Linked DNA regions of Homo sapiens: all the other regions are linked to region 2. The links are contacts of gene promoters, found by promoter capture Hi-C in human tissues and cell types (Jung and others, 2019). All regions are on one chromosome and are shown on one strand. The core of a region is centred on a gene start or on the middle of the fragment in contact, and the rest is flanking DNA. Distances in the headings are between cores, read along the strand shown.

The links. The method cuts DNA at HindIII sites, captures the fragments that hold promoters and counts their contacts. A contact is called where the count stands out against the background at its distance.
Region 1: a contact is called between a fragment that was not itself captured here and the fragment with the promoter of RADIL in region 2, in 1 of the 25 tissues and cell types used here (hippocampus).
Region 3: a fragment that was not itself captured here is called in contact with the fragment with the promoter of RADIL in region 2 in 1 of the 25 tissues and cell types used here (hippocampus).

The regions. Positions count from the first base shown.
Region 1 is chr7:5,055,495-5,058,350 of GRCh38, reverse strand. RBAK-RBAKDN (RBAK-RBAKDN readthrough) reads right to left here. Exons shown (of 6, transcript NM_001204513.3): 3 at 930-1,056; 4 at 572-667. It overlaps RBAK (RB associated KRAB zinc finger), which reads right to left. Exons shown (of 5, transcript NM_021163.4): 3 at 930-1,056; 4 at 572-667. Among named protein-coding and RNA genes, the nearest start is that of RBAK-RBAKDN, 11 kb to the right of the region's middle. The HindIII fragment of the contact is 6,513 bases long and covers 1-2,856 here.
Region 2 is chr7:4,882,385-4,885,140 of GRCh38, reverse strand. RADIL (Rap associating with DIL domain) reads left to right here and starts at 1,425. Exons shown (of 15, transcript NM_018059.5): 1 at 1,425-1,545. RefSeq lists a silencer at 1,394-1,613 and enhancers at 1,323-2,010, 2,011-2,699, 2,429-2,723. The HindIII fragment of the contact is 17,002 bases long and covers 1-2,756 here.
Region 3 is chr7:5,039,098-5,041,956 of GRCh38, reverse strand. It overlaps the pseudogene SPDYE19P. Among named protein-coding and RNA genes, the nearest start is that of RBAK, 5.3 kb to the left of the region's middle. The HindIII fragment of the contact is 4,028 bases long and covers 1-2,859 here.

The DNA.
Region 1 (2,856 bases), core at 116-2,615, 170 kb before region 2:
GTAATCTCAGCACTTTGGGAGGCTGAGGTGGGCAGATCACTTGAGGCCAGGAGTTCAAGACCAGTGTGGTCAACATGGTGAAACCCTGTGTCTACTAAAAATATAAAAATTAGCCAGGCGTGGTGGCATGTGCCTGTAATCCCAGCTACTTGGGAGGCTGAGGAAGGAGAATCGCTTGAACCTGTGAGGTGGTGGTTGCAGTGAGCTGAGATCATACCACTGCACACCAGCTTGGGTGACAGAACAAGATTCTGTCTCCAAAACAAACAAACAAACAAACAAACAAACCCAAAACAATTCTGTAATGGCAAGGGAGTAAATAAGTTACCAATAATGCTGGAGAAAGAGGAAGTGAATGGGTCTCCAGTACCGGTTAGAATGAAAAAATCCCTACCAATGTAAATCAAATGTAAAATCAACAAAAGAGTTCATGTATGTGTGCGGGAAGGAAAGTGATATTTGGGGGTTGGGAGGTGTTACTGAGGGTACTGAATACATATAAACAACTCTTTAGTCTCTCCCAAAGGTCTGGGATGAGCATTTTTTAACCTTTGATACGCTACTAACTTACCTGGACTATGTTGACATGGAAATTCACCTCCCATTATCCACGGCTCCTCTCCCTGCTCCAACTTAATGATGACGTTTGGCTTGGTGGTATCATATCCTGTTAATGGGAAAAGAAGGAGGACTTGGGGAAGCTGCTTGGCTTCAGAATCTCTGAAGTACAAGATGTTGCCACCTCATAAGCTGCATAACAGAAGTGCTCCATTTTTTACCTTATCAAAGTTAGAACCTTTCAATGAATAATAATATAAACACTCCAGCTAGTGCCCACAAGGAATTAAATGGTGTCATCACTTATTTCTTCAAACTCAAGGATAAAACCCCATTCAACTGAGAGCATTCAGAAAGCAAGCTATTCTCACCCACAGAAACTAGATGGCTATAGTTCTCCAACATCACATCCCTGTAAGTTATCTTCTCATCAGGGTCCAGCTGCTGCCACTCCTCCTGGGTGAAATCCACAGCCACATCTTTGAATGACACTGGCCCCTGTAATGGCAACATGATCAGAATTGGGAGATACGGAAAAGGGATAGGGGGATAACGTTTTACAAAGCCCACCGGTAAAGTTAACCATAAACATTGTATACCTTATTTTATGTTACAGATTATGGAAGGGAAATCATATTGGAAACACATATCCTTTGGGGTTATAATACATAATATATAAAATATATAATATATATAAATATATATAATATATATAAAAAATATATATATATTGCCCCACAAAAATAAAAACCCAAAACACAACTGAGCTCCTATTTTGCAAGTGAACTAGCTGAGCTTTGGGGACATGAGATGAGTGAAACACCATGCCTGCTCCCAAAGTGAACAACCTAAAAAGGAGATAAACATGTAAACAAACACAAGCATTTTACTCCTTGTCACTTCTTTTAGTCTTCCTTGCTGCCAGGCCCTCCCCTTGCCCTGGACCTCTTCATGTTGGAGTGCCCACCACTCAGCTCCTGGTCCTCTTCCTCCTAACTCACTGCTCTGGGGCTCTCACCTAGTTTCAGCTCCTTGTTCTTTTGGCTCTTTTATTCTCATAGCCAGTGGCCTCTGGCTATCTGCATGGCTGAGTTTTATCTCAAACATCTCAATCTTGGAGCAATAAATATTCGTTAAATGAATGAATGCCCAAAGCTGTTATTAGAGTAATGCAGACAAGGTGCAGAATGATTTAACAAAAGAGGATCAAATTATTTTAATTTTATGCCATCAGATTAGGCTTCACAGACTCAGTTAACTTGAAGTCTTTAAAGATGAATTGTGCATTCTATGGGATGAAGGGGAAGAAGAATATGATGAGGTGTACAAAGTACCAATGGCAAACGGGAAGCAGCTTCAATTTTTAAGTGGTTGGGGCTGGGCATGGTGGCTCATGCCTATAATCCTAGCACTTTGGGAGGCCAAGATGGGAAGATCGTTTGAGCTCAGGAGTTCGAGACCAGCTTGGGCAACATAGTAAGACCTCATCTCTGCTAAAAATAAATTAAAAAAAAAAAATTGGCTGGGCATCATGGCACACGCCTGTAGTTCTAGCTACTTGGGAGGCTAAGGCAGGAGGATCACTTGAGCCTGGGAGGTCAAGGCTGCAGTGAGCTGTGAATGCAACACTGCACTCCAGCCTAGGCAACAGAGTGAGACCTTGTCTCAAAAAAAAAAAAAAAAAAAAAGAAAAATGCAAAACTCCTGGGCTCCAGCAATCCACCTGCCTTGGCCTCCCAAAGTGTTGGGATTACAGGCTTGAGCCAGCACGCCCTGCCCAAACTTGTAGTTTAGAAAAAGGAAGTGCCCAGTAAGCAGGCTGCATTATCCTATTATTTATAAAGAACATATCAACAAGGGGTTCAAATCCAGTGATACAGCTAGGACCATGTAGATCCCAAGAGATAGCAGAGGCAGGGCCGCTAGGCTGTGGGCTGAGAAACTAAAGCAGAACATCCAAGCTTATCCACAGTCAGGCCACAGGAGCTGATAAAATCACCGAGAGAGAGTAATAACCTTCTGGGTTAAGTTAGTCCAGAAGGCAAGGAGGTAGTAGGGGTTAGAAGACTGATCAACCAATAAATAACATAAAATTACATGCCAATACCACTTACATCAATACAAAAACCCAAAATGAAACATAATCAAACAAAATCCAGTACCAGATTAAAAACATAATATACAATAGCCAAATGGGACTTATTCCAATAATATAGACTAGTTTAATATTTGGAAATCTATTAATATGATAAGCCACTATAACACAGCAAAGAAGAAAAATCTTGTATCCGTGAAGAT
Region 2 (2,756 bases), core at 176-2,675:
AGGTGGGTGGATCACCTGATGTTAGGATTTCAAAACCAGCCTGGTCAACATGGCAAAACCCCGTCTCTACTAAAAATACAAAAATTAGGTGGGCGTGGTGGTAGGTGCCTGTTAACCTTAGCTACTCGGGAGGCTGAGGCAGGAGAATCGCTTGAACCTGGGAGGTGGTGGTTGCAGTGAGCTGAGATCACACCACTGCACTCCAGCTAGGGCAATAGAATAAGACTCTGTCTCCAAAAAAAAAAAAAAAAAAAAAAAAAAAAAAAGCCAATCTTACTGCATTAAGTTTTTGAGACAAAAGCTTTTTTTGTCCGTATTGTGAGTTGATCAATAAGGAGACAGGAGCCTGGCTCAAATCTGTCTCTCTGTGTTGACTTTGAGGCACTATTTTTTATTAGAAAAGGTTTAGGAGGTGGACTTTAGGATTAGCAGGTGATAGGTGGAGGAAAGGGGAGGCCTGGAATGTCTCAGACATCTCTGTCTCACAAGAATTGATGTGAGCATTAAGTGAGGTGACCTAGGTAAAGTTGCCTAGGGCCTGGCACACAGGTGGTCAATAAATGTCTGTTCCCACACTCATCAATGTCTGCTCCGACCTCCATCGCGAATATGGGGTCATGACTACGGAAATCATACCACGATAGCTGTCCACAAAAAGGTTCACTCCCGAGGCCCACATTCTGCATATTGATATTCCGAACCACCTGAATCTCCCAGGTCTAGCCCACATTCCTCAAAGGGAAAACCCCAGCCAAAGTGCCGAGGTCACGAGCTGCTTTTTAAACAAGTCCCCAGGGAGAGCAGTTGGGGCCAGAGCCCCAGAGCTGACCTGGTCATTTTTTTGCATAATTGTAAGCAGGAATGCCATGACCTGATTTGTCTTTTAAAACTCTGGGTGGGAGACAGATGGTAGGGGAGAGGAAATTCCTCCCTTGTTCCTTTTCGATGTCTTAGAAGATGTTTATTAATTGGGGGCACAGCTCTACCCTCCCCTACACCCACTCACTGGGCTACTAGAAGGTGCTGTCTCGAAATAGCCCACCCAACCGCAGGAGCCCAGAGCCCACAAGCAGCTCAGGGACTTAGAACTGGTCCCACCCTTCCTCCGGGGACCCCCCCTCCTTAAGCTGCAGTCTGTGGGTGGGCTGCAAGTCCCGCCTCTCCACAACCAGCCCCACCCCTTTCTTCAAAACCCCGCCTCTCCGGTGAGGCCCCGCCCCCTCGAGGCTGCATCCCCGTCCATTGGGCGGCCGGCAGGAGGCGCCAGAGCACAGCCCGCCTTTTCTAGCAGGTTGGCCCCGCCCCTCTCCTGGAGACCCCGCCTCCTCGAGGCTTTCTTTCTGCCTATTGGGCGCCGAGGCCCAGCTCCAGCCCACCTGTTCTCCCCCGCCCCACCCTTTGTGGCCCCGTCCCCTTGAGGCCCCGCCCCGCCCGTTGCGCCGCCGGCAGGAGGCGCCGCGGCACGCGCGGGTCTGGGCGCCGGCCCCAGCCAACGGCGGGTGGGAGCAGCGCGGGAACGTGGCGGCGCGGCGGGTTGTGCCGGAGGTGAGTGTGGGGTGCGCGAGGAGTGACTGCGGAACCGGGGGTGGCTCGTAAGGGGCGCTGCTCGGCCGCTGCCGGGGACCTGGGGCGCGGAGGCCGCGGGGCGCGCTCGGGGACACTCCCGGCCGCTGGTCGGGGCGCGGAGGGCAGGTTTGCCCAGTTGCCATGGGAACCGACTGGCTGTCGGGCCCCGGCCTGGACCGGGGGGCGGTACCCGGAGGCCGGCTAGCGCGGGCAAGGGCGGCCCAGCCTGCGGGGATCCGGGGGTCCGCGCTGCCGACCCCCGAGAGCTCCTGAGCCTGGCTGTCCGCGTGGGCCCCGGACCCCCAACTCCAGGGGACTCTCGGCCCTCAGTTTTCCCGGCTGTGCCCTGGAGGGGGAGCTTCGTCCGGGGCGCGCAGCGGGGGAGCGGGGCGCAGCGGGGGAGCGGGGCGCAGGGTTCCGCGCGCTCTCCCACCTGGGCCGGCGAGACGTCCCCTGCACATACCCCGTCCCGGTTGCAGCCCGATCCCCACTCGTGCGCCAGCTCAAAGCATTGTTTCCCGGCTATTTATGTACCATTTCCAGCCCCTCGACAAATACTGCATCCAAGATAACAGATGCTGAGCCGAGCTCCTGGGGCCTCGCAGGAGGAGCCTGTTGGTGGGGTTGGCAGGGCCCTGGCGGGGCTGCGGACCATCCTGCCCTGCCCTGTCGCCTGTCAAGTGTTTGGCTAATCTGAATTGCACAGAAGAATCTGATTGCTCGTGTCCCGCGGTTAATATAGGCCACCTCTTGTGCATTCCAGACAGGAACCAGTCTTGAAAGTCCCTTTTGCTGGGGGGCAAGTCGGTCTCCTCTCCAGCAGCTAGCAGGTCAGAATTAAATCTGATTGAATTATGTTTGCATTTGAAAGCGTGGCTCGGGCTGGGGCTGTAAAGATAGGATTCATGGAAGGAGGGGAGAGAGCTGAGTGTGTAAAGTCTGCGCTTCGTTTTCCCTCCTGCTGGAAATGATAATGGGTTCCACATTGTCCTGTTGGAGCAGAGAGGTCGCTCCACCCATGTCGTCAGCGCAGCACTGACCTCACTCCCTGTACTCGCCGCTGGGACTTGAGCTTGTTTTTCATCAGAAACTGGACCCTTCCTTGAGAACAAGAGAAAACATTCTCTAAGAGCAGCACCAGCCAGCGCCCCACACCCTCGCTGTCCGAGCCCTGCGCTTTCCCCAAGTAT
Region 3 (2,859 bases), core at 148-2,647, 160 kb before region 2:
AAAAAAAAAAAAAAAAAAATTCCTGGGTTGTAGTGTTGGCAAGAAGTTCATTCACCTTTTTAAAAGATTTAGATACATGTCAAAGGCACAAAAGTTATTTATATTACCACGTTTATCAAGGAAATACTCTTTAAAAAGGAGAGGAGAAAAGGTTAATTTACCTTGTGGCAAATAAGACAAATTTAATCTTTTTTTTTTTAGAAAACCCGTACAGTGAGGGCTGGACACAGTGGCTCACATCATCTGTAATCCCAGCAATTTGGGAGGCCAAGGCAGGCAGATTGCTTCAGGCCAGGAGTTCGAGACCAGCCCAGGCAACATGGCGAAACCCCATCTGTACTACAAATACAAAAATTAGCTGGGCATGGTAGTGTGTGCCTATTGTCCCAGCTACTCTGGAGGCTGAGGCATGAGAACCGCTCGAACATGGGAGGCAGAGTTTGCAGTGAGCCAAGATTGAGCCACTACAATCCAGTCTGGGTGACAAGAGTGAAACTGTGTCTCAAAAAACAAAAAACAAAAAAACAAAAACAAAGAGCCTCTTTTCCATCTCCCTGCCACAGAGTAATTTCATTTGCTTTTTTCCTCAGGGTTTACTGGGTTTCTGGGTTCCAGAAGGGGAAATTCTCTTCAAGGTACAGAAACCACAACTCTGCAGAGAACCGCAGAGATGGCAGCATGACCAGACCCCGGTCAGGTGTGGGGAGGCTGCTGGGCTGAGACTTGGGCTGAACTTCCTCTGCAGGTCGACTTATTCCCATCAGCACCAAAGCCGCTGGAGGAGGTCATCCAACAGCAAAGGAAGCAGGGAGCGCAGCTTGGAGGCTGTTTCAGATAGTCTCACTGAGCCAAGGACTCAAGGCCTGGCCACAGCCCTCCCAAGTGAGGCCCAGATCATATTTCACTATGCTCAGAAAACCTTGTCTACGGCCGGGCTCGGTGGCTCACGCCTGTAATCCCAGAACTTTGGGAGGCCAAGGCGGGCAGGATCACAAGGTCAGGAGATGGAGACCAGCCTGGCTAACACGGCGAAACCCCGTCTCTACTAAAAATACAAAAAAATTAGCCGGGTGTGGTGGCAGGCACCTGTAGTCCCAGCTACTCGGGAGGCTGAGGCAGGAGAATAGCGTGAACCTGGGAGGCGAAGCTTGCAGTGAGCCGAGATCACGCCACTGCACTCCAGCCTGGGTGGCAGAGCAAGACTCTGTCTCCAAAAAAAAAAGAAAGAAAGAAAGAAAGAAAACCTTGTCTGCTCATTTTAGTCCATAGTGACTTTGCTTTCTTAGGATCTCTCTTACACTGTTCAACCCAGAGAGTTCCAAATCTGAATGGATTCCAATGATGGGGTTAAATCAGGCCCCACCTCAGTTTCTGAATTACAATCAATAGGGCCAGGTCCCAGCATCTATATCTTAATGTTCCTCCATGTGATCCTCGTGCTGAAAGGCTGGTATTTGCAAATCCCTTCTTGTGGGGAGTGAAGAGTTTTTTTAGAGACAGGCCTCACTCTGAGGCCCAGCCTCGAATGCAGTGGTGGGATCACAGCTCACTGCAGCCTCCAACTCCTGGCTGCAAGAAATCCTCCCACCTTGGCAACCAAAGTGTTGGGATTGTAGGAGTGACCGCTGTGTCTGGCCAGGAAAGCCCTTCTGTGTCACTTGAATGATATTTCTGCCGCATACCTGCAGCCATTGCTGTATTCAACTGCATCACTGCGGGAAAAGAGAAGGCGAGAGGTGGCTGTTTTGCTTTTTTCTGAACATATCAGACCAAACCTGGGCTGTTTAGCCTTTTTTTTTTTTTTTTGAGATAGTGTCTTGCTCTGTCGCCCAGGCTGGAGTGCAGTGGCGCAATCTCGGCTCACTGCAACCTCTGCCTTCCAGGTTTAAGCGATTCTCCTGCCTCAGCCTCCCAAGTAGCTGGGATTACAGATGTGCACTCCCACGCCCAGCTCATTTTTTCTGTATTTTTAGTAGAGACGGATTTCAACACGTTGGCCAGGCTGGTCTCGAACTTCTGACCTCTGGTGATCTGTCTGCTTTGGCTTCTTAAAGTGGTAGGATTACAGGCATGAGCCACCGCACCTGCTTCGCTACGTTTTTTGACAACGTATCAACATCATTTAAGATGGGCACGGCCTCAGTGTAGTGTGTCTAGACAAGGTGGCCAGAAGAGAGGGGAATATGCAAACCAGGCTTGAAGACGGGTTAAATCAGAGCTTTTCATTCCACAAAAGAGCAATTTTAATGGGGTCAGGACATTGATCTTCTAATATTTGAAAGCCTGTTAACTAGGAGAGAGAGAGCAAACTCTTTTGTTGTAGGAGGACCTACCCAGCTCTGACGGTTTAAAGCGTCATGAATGCAAATTTGAACTCCAGAAAAGCAGAGTTTCCTAACAATGGGACTTCCACAGCAATGGGATCTGCTTCTTCACTCAGTCTGTGTCTTTCCCATGAGTGAGAGACTCCTAGGAGAGCCACAGCACATTACGAAGCCATGTGGGAACTCACTCACAAGTTCTTTATTTTTTTGAGATGGAGTTTTGCTCTTGTTGCCCAGGCTGGAGTGCAATGGTGTGATCTTGGCTTGCTGCAACCTCTGCACCCCAAGTTCAAGTGATTCTTCAGCACCCCCTCACCCAAGTAGCTAGGATTACAGGCACCCGCCACCATGCCTGGCTAATTTTTTGTATTTTTTGTAGAGATGGGGTTTCACCATGTTGGCCAGGCTGGTCTCTAACTCCTGACCTCAAGTGATCCACCCCCTTTGGCCTCCCAAAGTGCTGGGATTATAGGCATGAGCCACTGAGCCCGGCCAGGAACCCACAGGTTTTTCGGATGGTCTCTGAATGTCATGC